4 separate regions of the Homo sapiens genome follow, and regions 1, 3 and 4 are each linked to region 2. The links are contacts of gene promoters, found by promoter capture Hi-C in human tissues and cell types (Jung and others, 2019). All regions are on one chromosome and are shown on one strand. The core of a region is centred on a gene start or on the middle of the fragment in contact, and the rest is flanking DNA. Distances in the headings are between cores, read along the strand shown.

Evidence for each region. The method cuts DNA at HindIII sites, captures the fragments that hold promoters and counts their contacts. A contact is called where the count stands out against the background at its distance.
Region 1: a contact is called between a fragment that was not itself captured here and the fragment with the promoter of TLX1 in region 2, in 1 of the 25 tissues and cell types used here (H1 embryonic stem cells).
Region 3: a fragment that was not itself captured here is called in contact with the fragment with the promoter of TLX1 in region 2 in 3 of the 25 tissues and cell types used here (adrenal gland, lymphoblastoid cells and mesenchymal stem cells).
Region 4: a contact is called between a fragment that was not itself captured here and the fragment with the promoter of TLX1 in region 2, in 2 of the 25 tissues and cell types used here (hippocampus and mesenchymal stem cells).

What each region holds. Positions count from the first base shown.
Region 1 is chr10:100,649,710-100,653,129 of GRCh38, forward strand. No RefSeq gene overlaps it. Among named protein-coding and RNA genes, the nearest start is that of PAX2, 94 kb to the right of the region's middle. The HindIII fragment of the contact is 8,696 bases long and covers 1-3,420 here.
Region 2 is chr10:101,129,490-101,132,980 of GRCh38, forward strand. TLX1 (T cell leukemia homeobox 1) reads left to right here and starts at 1,811. Exons shown (of 3, transcript NM_005521.4): 1 at 1,811-2,620. The coding sequence starts at 2,053. It overlaps TLX1NB (TLX1 neighbor), which reads right to left and starts at 1,657. Exons shown (of 3, transcript NR_130723.1): 1 at 1,297-1,657. The HindIII fragment of the contact is 11,337 bases long and covers 1-3,491 here.
Region 3 is chr10:101,504,123-101,507,853 of GRCh38, forward strand. All of the region lies in intron 4 of BTRC (beta-transducin repeat containing E3 ubiquitin protein ligase), which reads left to right. Among named protein-coding and RNA genes, the nearest start is that of POLL, 82 kb to the right of the region's middle. RefSeq lists an enhancer at 2,770-3,731. The HindIII fragment of the contact is 4,822 bases long and covers 1-3,731 here.
Region 4 is chr10:101,459,267-101,462,872 of GRCh38, forward strand. It overlaps BTRC (beta-transducin repeat containing E3 ubiquitin protein ligase), which reads left to right. Exons shown (of 15, transcript NM_033637.4): 3 at 2,715-2,792. Among named protein-coding and RNA genes, the nearest start is that of BTRC, 110 kb to the left of the region's middle. The HindIII fragment of the contact is 4,592 bases long and covers 1-3,606 here.

The DNA.
Region 1 (3,420 bases), core at 165-2,664, 480 kb before region 2:
TATTCACATGTATAATCCTCGAAGAATTTCAGCGCGGGCAGTGCCAGTAAATGCTGTGCATGTTTAAAAGTCATTTCCATAAGTAAGTGCAATTTCTCTACTGTTTGCCCCTGTTTAATGAAGTGAAATCTTGTTTGCATTCCTCCCAATTTCCCAACGAAAGGCGCCCAACCGTTCGCACAAAAATTACGCCGCCCAAATTAAAACTCGGGCTCTAAGGGAGGTGAGGGGACCGTGGCACTGGGCCCTTCACGGAGGGCCTACTGAGGGGTGGGGGGCAGGCAGGAGCTGGGCCTGGGTTTTTCAGCTCATTACTTTTCTGTCGTTCTTGCAATTTCAAATGCTCCCCCCACCATATTCCCCACCCCCACTTGCCCCATTATGTTCCTCTCTTTTTAAAAAGAACCCCTGGGGTACATGAACAGGGCATGAGGTATATGTTCATGTATGTGTAAATGAATCCCTATATACATTTATATTCATGTTCCTGCGTGTACTTGTGAAGTTGTGTACTCGTGATATTGTGATATATAATCGTACTCTGTGATCATTCAAGCAATGATTCATACAGACACATTGTAATGGCAAACACAAATGGCTATTGTGGATTTGCTTAGGAGGCCCTGCCTATGCATACATGTGGAATTGTCTACATGTCTGGCTGTATGTGTTGGGCGTGTTGTACATGTCTAAGGTGGATAGTCACATAGACGATATGGGTAAAGACAGAGAGGAGAAGGGGAGATTGCGGGTGTTTGTGTACCTTCTCAGGTTGCCTGGCGTAGAGTACTTAGCTCTATTGCAAAGACCCATTCCTTCCTGAGGGGCGCATGGCACCCCTCTTAATATACCTACAGCTGATGGCACTGGCACTGCAGGGTTGGAGGAATCATTTCCTTCTACTCCTTCCCTGAGTGTGCCCTCTGACCCTGTGAGGACCAGCCAGGTGGCTGACCAGCCAGCTGACACTCCAACGCCCTGTATGAGTTTGAACAAACGTACTCCCAAATGGGCAGGCAGGAGACCCCTTCAAGGCTCCACACCCTCAAAGTTGCACCCTCTCCTAGTGCCAAATGGCCACGATGTGAGGGTCGCTTTGGCAAGGAGCCCAGAACATAACTGCAGACTGCTCTTATTTGGATTAATTGGAAAAGTAATGAGCATTCGGTGCTCACCACCTTCACCACTCCTACTACCTTGACCAATCCCACCACACTGACCACGCCCATAACCTTCACCACTCCCACCACCTCGACCAATCCCGCAACCTCCACCACTCCCACCACCTCCACTATTCCCACCACCTTCACCACTCCCACCACCTCCACCACTCCCACCACCTCCACCACTCCCACCACCTTCCCCACTCCCACCACCTCCACCAGTCCCACCACCTCCACCATTCCCACCACCTCCACCATTCCCACCACCTCCACCACTCCCACCACCTCCACCACTCCCACCACCTTCACCACTCCCACCACCTTCCCCACTCCCACCACCTCCACCAGTCCCACCACCTCCACCATTCCCACCACCTCGACCAATCCCGCAACCTGCACCACTCCCACCACCTCCACTAGTCCCACCACCTCCACCACCCCCACCACCACCCCCACTCCCACCATCTTCCCCACTCCCGCCACCTCCACTATTCCCACCACCTTCCCCACTCCCACCACCTCCACTATTCCCACCACCTTCCCCACTCCCACCACCTCCACTATTCCCACCACCTCCACCACTCCCACCACCTCCACTATTCCCACCACCTTCCCCACTCCCACCACCTCCACCACTCCCACCACCTCCACCACTCCCACCACCTTCCCCACTCCCACCACCTCCACCATTCCCACCACCTCCACCACTCCCACCACCTTGACCAATCCCGCAACCTCCACCACTCCCACCACCTCCGCTAGTCCCACCACCTCCACCACCCCCACCACCACCTCCACGATTCCCACCACCTTCCCCACTCCCACCACCCCCACCACCTCCACGATTCCCACCACCTTCCCCACTCCCACCACCCCCACCACCTCCACGATTCCCACCACCTTCCCCACTCCCACCACCCCCACCACCTCCACGATTCCCACCACCTTCCCCACTCCCACCACCCCCACCACCTCCACGATTCCCACCACCTTCCCCACTCCCACCACCCCCACCACCTCCACGATTCCCACCACCTTCCCCACTCCCACCACCCCCACCACCTCCACGATTCCCACCACCTTCCCCACTCCCACCACCCCCACCACCTCCACTATTCCCACCACCTTCCCCACTCCAACCACCCCCGCCACCTCCACCACCTCTGCCACTCCCGCCACCTCCACCAATCCCGCCACCTCTGCCACTCCCACCACCTTCACCAGTCTCACCACCTTCTACTCCCCACCTTCTTCCAGTTGACCACTCAGCTGGAAAGGACAGAACCAATAAGTCACATCGCTACAATAATGCCCTCACCCACATATCCACAGGTCTGAAGCCCACTACCCTCTTAACACGTCACTGCAGGAAACATGGGGTGGCTAGCAGAGGTTCCAGTTGTTTGCTGAAGGTCTGGAGGAGAGAATCATTCAGAGCTGAAATCCTGAGGTAAAGGAACCCAGGAGTCGAAGTGATGAAGAGTGGGAGGCCTCCTTGGAGAGGGCTTCTTCTGTCACACCTCTTTGATGTCCTCCAGGAGGTGGGACATCCAGGCACACCGGCAAAGTGTCATCCTTGTCGTGACCCCCCACTTATCCTTTTTCCTCCTGCATTCTTCTATCAGTGTAATCAGCCCAAACCACAACTGTAACTTCTTCTCCCATAGTTCAGAAACCATCTATGGTTCCCCACTCCTCAAACAATAAAGCCTGTATTCCTTCTGCTATCAGACAGAACAAGCCCTTCACAATAGGAAGTTCCCTTCCCCCTCAACCTGCTTTTCTGTCCTTGGTTCTCAATGATGCCTCCCCCAGCCCCTCCATATCCCTCCTGAGCCCCACCCAAGCAAATAGGAACATGAGCTGGTTCTCTCCCTCTTTTGTCCATGCTCTTTCTTCTACCTCAGATGCCACCATTAGCCTTACCCCATCCCATTTTCTGCGGGTTGGGGTCTTAAAGCCCATCAAGCCAGATTTAATGCCATTTTCTCTAAGGCTTTCATGCTGGACCTCACCATGACTACCGGCAGCACAGTGACTCCTGGAGCATGATTTCTCTGCCTCTGCAACAGGAATTTCTTGTCCCTTCTCTTTACCTGCTGCAGACCAGACCTGCTGGGCTCCATTCTCTTTGGGCACCAGGCTTTGAGTACCCCTGAGTGAGGGGAAGGAGCAGTTCGCAAAGGCTTTGTGGACCAGCTAGTGGCGGACTGCAGAGCATGTGGAGAGTTAGGGTGGATTTGGACACATGTGCCCG
Region 2 (3,491 bases), core at 561-3,060:
AGACAAGGTTTTCCCCACAGATACAAACTTCCAACCAGCACGTAGGTTTCCAGGCTAACCCACAAAAGCAAGTTGAGTCTAGCTCCTCCATATTGATCCACACCAATCATAGCTATTCTGAAATGTACTTTCCTCACATCTGTAAAATAGGGAGAATACTCATCTCGAAGGATTGGTGTAGAGTTTATATTGTTCTCCATAATACTAACATCTGTCTTGTTGTATTTGCTTCTTTGCTTATTGTCTGACCCCCTCTATAGAATGTAAGCTTCATGAGGTCAGGACCTTTGTTTTGTTCACTGCTATGTCCCCCATGCCTAGAACAGTGCCTGACACATAGTGAGTACAGTACTCAATAAATATTATTGAATAAAGAGATACATTCTTTGTTATTCACCCAAGATGACCATATTTTGTTGTTTGGGGCTGTATTCTTCAGGAGAGAACAGAAATGAATAAGCCACTCTCTGCCTCCAAGAAGATCTCTTCAAGTGGAGGTGACAGACATGCCCAAAGCAAATAGATTGCAATAAGACTTGATGGGAGAGAATGTGAGTCTTCACATCCTAGCATCTTTCCAGATAGAGACAGGGCCTACCCAAAAGTCTAATCTGAAACTGAACTGAAATAGAACAGAAATAGATCCCAAGTGATGGAACCTGTGCCTTTCCCAAAGCTTGGCTTCTAAAAGGTAGCAAACATTTTCTACTGGAGAGGGGAAAGACAGGAAGAAGAAAAAGGGAGTTTCCTCCTTTTCTCTTGGGCTCTCAGCCAGACAGCCACTGGCAAAACGTTGGAAAGGCCTAAATTTGTCCTGGATGCACTTCCCTGATCCTAGTCCCACCAATCCCAGCCCCCACGGCCTTAAGCCCCTATGGCTCCCTCCCAAGATTCCAAACGTAAGAAAAGAACACACACCACAGTCCAAAGGCTTCTTGTCTGGAATAGCCAACCCTGGGGTAATTGTTAGGTGGAATGCAATCTGGTTGAATTCATTCAAACACTGTAGGAATTGCCTCTTTCGAACCCTGTAGGATTTTACTTCTTGACGCATCTGTTTATTTAAAACCAAAGGGGTATGTTGAGGCATGGGCACCCTGGCAGCAGACCCCAAACCAACCCTCTTGACTTGTGCCTGCCTTTCAGGATATGTTCCCTTCCTGAATTTGTCTAAGAAGGCTGAGTTGGGGGGTGGTTGCTGATTTTTATAACATATAGCCAGTTGTTCATAGGCCTGTGTTTTAAAGAAGGGCAAGCCTGAACTCACCGTCCTGCCTCAGGGCCTGGGCTCCATACCTGGGGAGTAGACAGTCTTCTACTTTCTAAAAAGCTGGACTTGAAATTTGGAGTAAATCTCCTGGTTGAGTGACAGGTGTTTCGCAGCTGAGCCCTTGAGGAGATTCTCCAGTTGGGCAGAGACATCCCTTCCTCAGACGCCTTGTGGGCTGGACTCCTTTGGCCCAGTTCAAAGTGAGGGGAGGGCTCCCAACAGGCCGGGAAGACAGTTGACTTCACCCTCCTTGGGTTTGTCTGTCTGTCCGTCTCTGGGAATGGTCGCTTCCTGTTTTCCCTTTTCCTTTTAAGCCTCGCCTTGTTCCCCTCTTCTCTCTCTTCATGAACTACTCCGAGTCTTGGTCTCCGTCCCTCTATCTCTGGCTCCTGCATCTGTCTCGGCTTCTGGCCTTCCTCTCCCCCTCCCCTCCCCTCCCTCGCGCTGTCATTCACCCCGCTCCTCTCCGCGCACAGCCAATGGAGAGACCCAGTCGAAACCGCGAAGCTCTCTTGCACCGGGCTTTTTCGCCTGGTGATTGATGTCCCAGAGTCAACAGCGAGCGAGCAGCCGGAGCGGGGAAGCAGAAGCCAGAGAGGGGAAGAATACGGCGCCCCCTCTCTCCCTCCCCTCCCCCTTCTACTTTAGCCTTTCTGCGCACTTCGCTTCCAAGTCTCCGCGCAGCCAGGAGCCGCTGTTGCCTCCCAGCCCCTGCTAGCTGCCCCCCGAGCCGAGCGCAGCGAGCGCCGCCGCCCGGGCCCCCCGGTGGGGCCAGGGCCAGCATGGAGCACCTGGGTCCGCACCACCTCCACCCGGGTCACGCAGAGCCCATTAGCTTCGGCATCGACCAGATCCTCAACAGCCCGGACCAGGGTGGCTGCATGGGACCCGCCTCGCGCCTCCAGGACGGAGAATACGGCCTTGGCTGCTTGGTCGGAGGCGCCTACACTTACGGCGGCGGGGGCTCCGCGGCCGCGACGGGGGCTGGAGGAGCGGGGGCCTATGGTACTGGAGGTCCCGGCGGCCCCGGAGGCCCGGCAGGCGGCGGCGGCGCCTGCAGCATGGGTCCTCTGACCGGCTCCTACAACGTGAACATGGCCTTGGCAGGCGGCCCCGGTCCTGGCGGCGGCGGCGGCAGCAGCGGCGGTGCCGGGGCACTCAGCGCTGCGGGGGTAATCCGGGTGCCGGCACACAGGCCGCTCGCCGGAGCCGTGGCCCACCCCCAGCCCCTGGCCACCGGCTTGCCCACCGTGCCCTCTGTGCCTGCCATGCCGGGCGTCAACAACCTCACTGGCCTCACCTTCCCCTGGATGGAGAGTAACCGCAGATACACAAAGGACAGGTTCACAGGTGAGTCCGGCCCGCGCGCTCCCCGCCTGGCCGCGGCCCGGGCTCCGTGCTACCCCTGCCCCGCCGGGTGGCTCCCCAAAGCCGGTTCTGCGCTCCAGGTCGCCCAGCTCTTCTTGGTGCTTCCCCCAAGTTGAGCCGCCCGCCCGATTCTATAACGCAGACTCGCCATGCTTGAAGAGTTCTCTCAGCCTGGACCCCTCTCTGTCTCCCGAAGGACCCCTGCTCGGAGGAGCTCTCCCTGGTCCCCTCTCCGGATCCACTAGCCGGGTCAGGCAGAGAGAAGGAGGCCATAGATTCAGGACCACCTTCTGCAGCTACTCTTGGCCTGGGAATCTTAGAGAAAGGGGTGCAACGTGAACAGTTTCTTCCGTCCTGGCTGCTGTTCTAGGACCCAGGAAGCGAGCCCCAGGATCAGACACAAGAAAAGAACAGGTTCCCCCACCTCCAGTCCCCTACACACATGCACTTCGCGCCCCTAGCTCCGGTGCCCGTGGTGCTGCGGGGCCAGTGGGGGCTCTGAGCCCCGGTAAATCAGCAGAACCAGTGGCCTTTTTTTTTTTTTCCGGAGAGCAGGCTTCATCTGGGAGGATGGCAGCGGGGCTTAGCCGCCCAGGACAGCTAGCTTTTCATTTTCGTTCTCTCCCGGCTGGGTGTCCTACCCCGGGCCCAGCCCTGTTATCTTGGGCACGAACAATGCACCGGTAGGCTGGTGATCGGTGGCGGGAAGACTACTCCCGGGACATTGGGTACTAAGTGGTGGCCGCTGCCGCCTTCTCTGCTGCCCGCTCCCGCCTTCCTCTGCTGGCCCTGGCTCCCTCTGCTCCCGTTTCCACTCTGGGCACTCAACTCTCCCTCTGGCGTGGATCCCTTC
Region 3 (3,731 bases), core at 390-2,889, 370 kb after region 2:
TTATTCTGGTAATCTTAACATAATTTGACATCTAGGTGAACAACCTCCACCTGAGGAAGTTACACAGAAAGAACAACCAGATTCCAGACAATTAAACTTTATTACTCCGCCTGAAACATTAAGTAGTGGTTTTAAAAAATAGTTTTTTATCTCCTCTCCCTCTTGATGTTTATTGTGTGGGAGAGGATGTTTGTCCAACAAGCATATTGCTCCTCTTAGAGCAGGTGAGCTTGGTAATGCTGGGTCCCTTTTGCATTTGGTTATATTCATTCTCCCCCTTCCCACCTATTTCTCACTTCATCTCTCCTGTAGCCATCTCCCTCCATCTCTTCCCCAGCTCATCATCTCTCCCCATCCCTATCTTTCCCCTAGACCTGCTTATCCCTCTTCCTTCATCCTTATCCCATCTCTCACCAACCCCACTGCCTAGTATCCACTGTCCTTTCCCCAATCCTCGGTCACTTTTGTCATTCCTCTTCCTCTTCTACCCTCTTCTCTAGCCCTAGCCCTTCCTCTCCTTGCGTTCCTCCTTCTGCTTTCCCATTTTCCCCCTTCCATTTCCCTTTTCTTTCTCTCCTCACTTTCTCTCCCTTTGACTCTCTTTCTTTTCTCCTCTTTCCTCCCCTCCTTTCAGCTCCCCTCATCACAATAACCTATAATTCTCTGTCCTCCAGGATCAGATCTTGACTTCTCTAACAGCAAAGATTAATTTTGCTTGCTCTGATCAATTTGATATTATGAACAAAGAATTCTCTAGATGGCACAGATACACTCCCCCTCCCCCATATTCTTCAAATATTTGACTAATAAATTTTAAAAAAATTTTGTTTTCTTTTTGAGATGAAGTCTTACTCTGTCACCCAGGCTGGAGTGCAGTGGTACAATCTCAGCTCACTGCAACTTCTGCCTCCCGTGTTCAAGCAATCCTCCTGCCTCAGCCTCCCAAGTAGCTGGGATTACAGGCGTGCACCACTGCACCTGAGTATATATTTATATATATATATGTGTATATATATGTATATATATATGTATATGTATATATATATATATATATATTTTTTAGTAGACACGAGGTTTCACCATGTTGGCCAGGCTGGTCTAAGACTCTTGACCTTAAGTGATCCGCCTGCCTCAGCCTCCCAAAGTGCTGGGATTACAGGCATGAGCCACCATGCCTGGCCGTTGACTAATACATTTTTAAATAAACAGAAAGATGGCCGGGCGCGGTGGCTTACGCCTGTAATCCCAGCACTCTGGGAGGCCGAGGCGGGCGGATCATGAGGTCAGGAGATCAAGACCATCCTGGTTAACACGGTGAAACCCCGTCTCTACTAAAAATTCAAAAAAATTAGCCGGGCGTGGTGGCAGGCGCCTGTAGTCCCAGCTGCTCAGGAAGCTGAGGCAGGAGAATGGCGTGAACCTAGGAGGTGGAGCTTGCAGTGAGCAGAGATTGTGCCACTGCACTCCAACCTGGGCGACAGAGCGAGACTCCGTCTCAAAAAAATAAAAAAAAAAAAATAATAATAAAAAAACAAATATACCCACCAAAATGTGAACATTATGTCTTTGTTGATAGTTGAAATTATGGGCAATTTCCATGTTTTTTGTGTATCTGAATTTTTCATATTTACTAAAATGTGTCTACTGTAAATGCTATTTTTAGAAAATGAATTAAACATTCTTTGCTTGACCCCCCCCATAGATCTTTATTTAATCAAAGTGAAAACAAAATGACTCAGATTTGATCCTTTTTGAAGATGAATTTGGTTTGCTATTTTGATGTTCAGTTTTCCAATTTTTTTTTTTTTTTGAGACGGAGTCTCGCTGTGTCGCCCAGGCTGGAGTGCAGTGGCACAATCTCAGCTCACTGCAACCTCCGCCTCCAGGATTCAAGCAATTCTCCTGCCTCAGCCTCCCATTAGCTGGGACTACCGGTGCCGGCCACCATGCACTGCTAATTTTTCTATTTTTAGTAGAGACGGGGTTTCACCATGTTGGTCAGGCTGATCTCGAACTCCCAACCTCAGGTGATCCGCCGCCTCAGCCTCCCAAAGTGCTGGGGTTACAGGCGTGAGCCACCTGTAGTTTTCGCGCCTGGCTAGTTTTCCAAATTTTTTTACCTTTCAAAATGGGTGGCCCTTTGAACTGAAGCATGAAGCCATCAGCTCATTGGCACTATTGTAGCACATGGTGAATGTTAAATACAGTTGCTCAAGTTAGGCTTCAACTCTAAGTCCTATAAGACCTTTCCTGCCTTTCTCTGTCCTCCCAAAATTTAGCTCATGTTTTTTTGTAATATTTCAATATTAGAGTGTTCAGTCTGATAGACTTGGCAATTTTTATACAGATTTGTTTTCAGCCCTGTTATCAGTCTTGGGGGTGGGGAGGACAGGCATTGATGAGCAGCAGTTCTATTATATACCTTGTTTATTGTCCTTGGTAGTGTTGGTTATAAAAAGTGTAACAGTCATGCTGTACCAAGCCAAGATGCCAACTCTGCCATAGTTAAATGTTAAAATTCCAAGCTCAGATTCAAAATTGACTGAAAGGAAATCTTTCAGCAGACTATTTCAATCTCAGTTGACTAACCCTAGGTATGCAAGGTGGATGGCAAGGCTAGATGAAGTGCTCTAAACAACTGAAGTTTACTTATTTCCTAGCTATAGTGTACTCATTGTTTCACAAAGGGTTAAATTATGTAGTTAGTGAATGCTTTTCTAGCTGCAGGGGTTTTTGAAAAGAGATCTAGGAATTCTGCAGTTAATTGAATTCTTCAGGCATGGACTCAGGGTCTCTGAAAAAATTTGAGTGAGCAAAATTCTCTTGCTTTGCTCCTAGATATAGTTCATACCATGTCTTAGGAATCCAGAATTATTTTTTGAAGGATTTTATGCCTATATATGCTGACTGAACATTTAATAAGATAACCACGACATTTTAAAAGATTTTATACAATGTACTTGTTTCCTTGCATTGCCCTTCTCCCTGTTTTTTCTTCTCTTACTTCCCCAAGTCTGTATCACTGGGGCTTTTTTCCCATTTTTTCCCATCTTGTGAGCAAAGTTTTAACAGTACGTAGAAAGTTAACTGCCTGGAGTCTTTTAAATATAAGTAACACGCAACCAGTAATAAGCTGTCGGTTGATTTTTTGCTGCCTGCAAAGAAACATAAACACAGCGCTCATTTCTGGCAGGTTTTTACTGTCAGAGTTTCTCCTATTATATTTATCTTACAATTTGCCAGGGGGTGAAGTTATTAAGTTTTAGCAGCAGCCATCGATCAAGTTCACAAGTTAACACGATAAAGGCTCTGTGCCGCTCCGATCCGGGGAAATGATGATCCTCACTCGGTAATTAACTAAATGAGAAAGTTAAATCTTACTTGAGAGCTGGGAGAGATGAAAGAGAGGTGTTTGTCAGCTTCTCAGTGGAAATTAGAAGCAGTTTTCTGCAATTCCCTAAGCTGCTGCTCTGTCATATTTTACATAAGCACTGGGAAAATGTCTTGTAATTAGTGCTGTCATGGAAGATTTTTTTTTGCTGAAGGATGTTGGAATAATTCATTAGATTATCAAGAAAGGCTGTGTCCTGAAATGATTAGCACAGTGAAATTTAAACCATTAACGATAACAAGTTTAGAGCTTGCTGCAGTGCAGAGGCACCCCGGGTATGTCTGTGCCTATTTCAATCATTTCTTATAATTAAACATTATGTCCTTTTTTTTTCCCTCAC
Region 4 (3,606 bases), core at 142-2,641, 330 kb after region 2:
TTTCCTGGGTGATGTTGGACAGGCTTTGAGAACTGTTGAGGTGACTACTTAGGTATACATGGCTATTTCATCATTACCCCTTACCCTCAAGACTGTAGACCTAGTAATCTCATTCACTGGCATTCTGCTTCTACTCTTTAGTATTAGGAGGGTTCCTAATCCTTGTTCCTGATATCATGACTGTTTAATGTCCCTACCTCTATTTTTTTGTAACAACATTATAAGTTGGATTTTTTGTTTGATTTGATTTCTCATGATGGATGGCCCAGAGTAAAAGTGTTGGGTTAATCTGTATTAAAAGAACATACCAATGTTTATGGGTTTCCCCCATTTTTTGTTTAAGAGTTATTTTTAACAATACCATTTAAATATTCTTTGCCCTAGTGGGATAGAAAGGGGAAAGGAACTCCTAAGAAGCTCTGTGTTCTATGTTAGGTTAGTAACACCCTTTAAGCTCCCTTTGTGTTTTCATTCTTTAGACATTTTCATAATACCCACCCAGTGGTTATCCATCTAAATCTGATAAAATAGAGGGTCAGTAAAAAGAAAATTGTGAGTATGGGCTAGTCAATACTCAGGCTGTTAAGGTTGAGATGACTATTTTTCACTTTATAATTCAGTATAGAGGAGTTTGCCAGCAATTGTGTATCAGCCCAAGTACCTGTATAATAAAAATGTGATTTATAGTATCTTTGGTATGACAAACTTCCAGCAAAAAGTAATTAGGCTCCAAGTTATATGATAACATTTCAAAAAACATAATTAATTTTGAAATACAGGATCTTACACTGAATTAAACAGGTTTAGTTTATCTGATCTTTTTATTTATTTATTTAAAGGAGGAATTTCATGACCTGAAAGAGAGTTACTTGCAAATTCTAAGTTTATAATTGGATACTGGCTTAAGCTTCTATTATATAAGGCATTTAATTTTGGTATTTAAAACATTGATCTTTACATTTAAAAAAAAAAAGTTAAACATACAACTTGATGTTATGGGGTAAATAAATGTTGACCTTTCCCTTTCTTTGTTTGATACTCTTACATAGCATGTATTGCCAGTCGCCTCATTTGTCAAGCTTTGTAGTCATTAATTCAATTATATCCTTCCTCCATTTTTTGGTAGATGATCTCCATTCCTTTTTTTCCAAACAGGGAGGAAAAGAAGTTAGAACTCTGAAGTTCTTGAGTCTCTGTCCCTTTCTTTGTAATATAGCATGCTTTTTCTTTAATTTTAGGGACTTTTACAAGGGATCATCACAAATGTAAAATATCAAGTTAAACCTCATAAGATATTTCTGCCCAAAAGAAACACATTAGGGTACTGGCCTGTCAGGCTTACTAAAGGTGACACACAGGTGTCAGCCACAGAGGTGAAAGGGCCTCAGAATGACACAGTACGTTTTTTATCTCTCAGTATCTTTCAAAATGTAATATCTAATAGAAACCAAAAAAGTGAAATTTACATGTAGGTTTAGAACACAGTAATGATTGTATATTAATAATTTCATGCTTGTATGAAAATTTTCAGATAAACTCTCATGTTAAAAATAATTTCTGAACCTACAAATAAACTAACCCTCCTGTTAGAACGTTATGACTATATGTAATGTAAGGAATATATTAACTGTAAGTTTTTTGTTGTTGTTGTTTTGAGACGGAACCTTGCTCTGTCACTCAGGCTGGAGTGCAGTGGTGTGATCTCGGCTCACTGCAACCTCGGCCTCCTGGGTTCAGGCGATTCTCCTGCCTCAGACTCTCGAGTAGCTGGGATTACAGGCACCCACCACCACACTTGGCTAATTTTGTATTTTTAGTAGAGACACAGTTTCAGCATGTTGGCCAGGCTGGTCTCAAACTCCTGACCTCAGATGATCTGCCCGCCTTGGCCTCCCAAAGTGCTGGGATTACAAGTGTGAGCCACCGCACCTAGCACAACTGCAGGGTTTTAAATATTAATGTTATTAATGTTACTAATGTTGTTGCTGAAAATGGAACTCAAATAATATGTAATTTGGATTTTCTGTATTTTGCCTTGTAGATAGTGATTTACATATATTGACTAGCAGATTTTTAGTACTTATGAACTCATTTTCAGTTGGATTGTTGTTTTTTTCCCCCTCCTAAGTATATAAAAACCCCACTGACATTTTAGGGCCTCTAGCTGCTGTTTGAGGTGACAGTGCCAAGGAATGGACTCTAATCCTAAACTACTGAGTAAATGTTTTTTTAAGTCCTATGCTACTTTTATCAAAGAAAATAAAATCAAATCTGAGAAGAGGGGGAAGAGAAATAACTATTTTTAGGACCCAGACTTGGAGATCTGTGCCAACCAAACATCTACTATAATCGAGAGAAGGTAATAATCATGGTTTTAGTTGTCATCAGCTAAGTGTGGGCTGGAACTTTCTTGTATCCAGTGTCAACCTGTGTCAAAGTGCAAGCTAGAGATCTAATGAATATGATCTCCTACACAATGCTTAAAGATACATGAAATACTTCCCATCTAAATCCTTACATAATTTATTTATATACATGGGCATATGTTTTCTTTTACATATGTGTATATCTGTATGTATACAAATCTTCAAGTGAATAATTGTATAAATATATGTATGTTCTAACTTACAGAATTAGAAATGTAATTCAGTTTACTCCCAAAGGATAAGATTGAAGATAATGAGAACTGAATTAAAGCTTACTTTCTTTCACAGAATTCCTCAGAGAGAGAAGACTGTAATAATGGCGAACCCCCTAGGAAGATAATACCAGAGAAGAATTCACTTAGACAGGTATGAAATTCAGCCTTACTTAAAATAAAAAGCTACCAACAGCAAAACAAAAGACAGGAGGAAACCCTTGATTTGCCATTCTTTAAGCACTGGAGCTTATATTAAGAGTACTCGGACGTTGGCCTGGCCATAGCCATCACTTTCAATCAGGTGACATGGTTTTCCCAGTTATTTAAAAAACATTCTAGGTATACATGTACAGGACAGCTGGTTGGCATTTTTAAAAAAGTATAAAAACAGATCTGCCTGTAATAAAGTTAGCCCTTTTAGTATGAGCAATATTTTGTTTGCTTTTTCTAGAAGAAAAGGCCATTGTTAATAATAACTTAAAAAAACAGCAGCCGGGCAAGGTGGCTAACGCCTATAATCCCACCACTTTGGGAGGCTGAGGCAGGCGAATACCTGAAGTCGGGAGTTCGAGACCAGCCTGACCAACATGGAGAAACCCAGTCTCTACTAAAAATACAAAAATTTGCTGGGCATGCTGGCGCATGCCTGTAATCCCAGCTACTCAGGAGGCTGAGGCAGGAGAATCACTTGAACCCCAGAGGCAGAGGTTGCGGTGAGCTGAGATTGCGCCATTGCACTCCAGCCTGGGCAACAAGAGCAAAACTCCGTCTCAAAAAAAAAAAAAAAAAATAGCTCACCACTGTGCCCCAATAGAAGGTAACACATTTTACTTGTGAAAGTTCAATACCATTGTGTTCTTGTAAAAATTAGAATGTCCTTGGCAAAAACAAGAAACGCAAGTTCTTATGATGTTGCCAGAGAATAAGTGTGCCACCTATTCATTTTTATTTTTATTATTTTATTT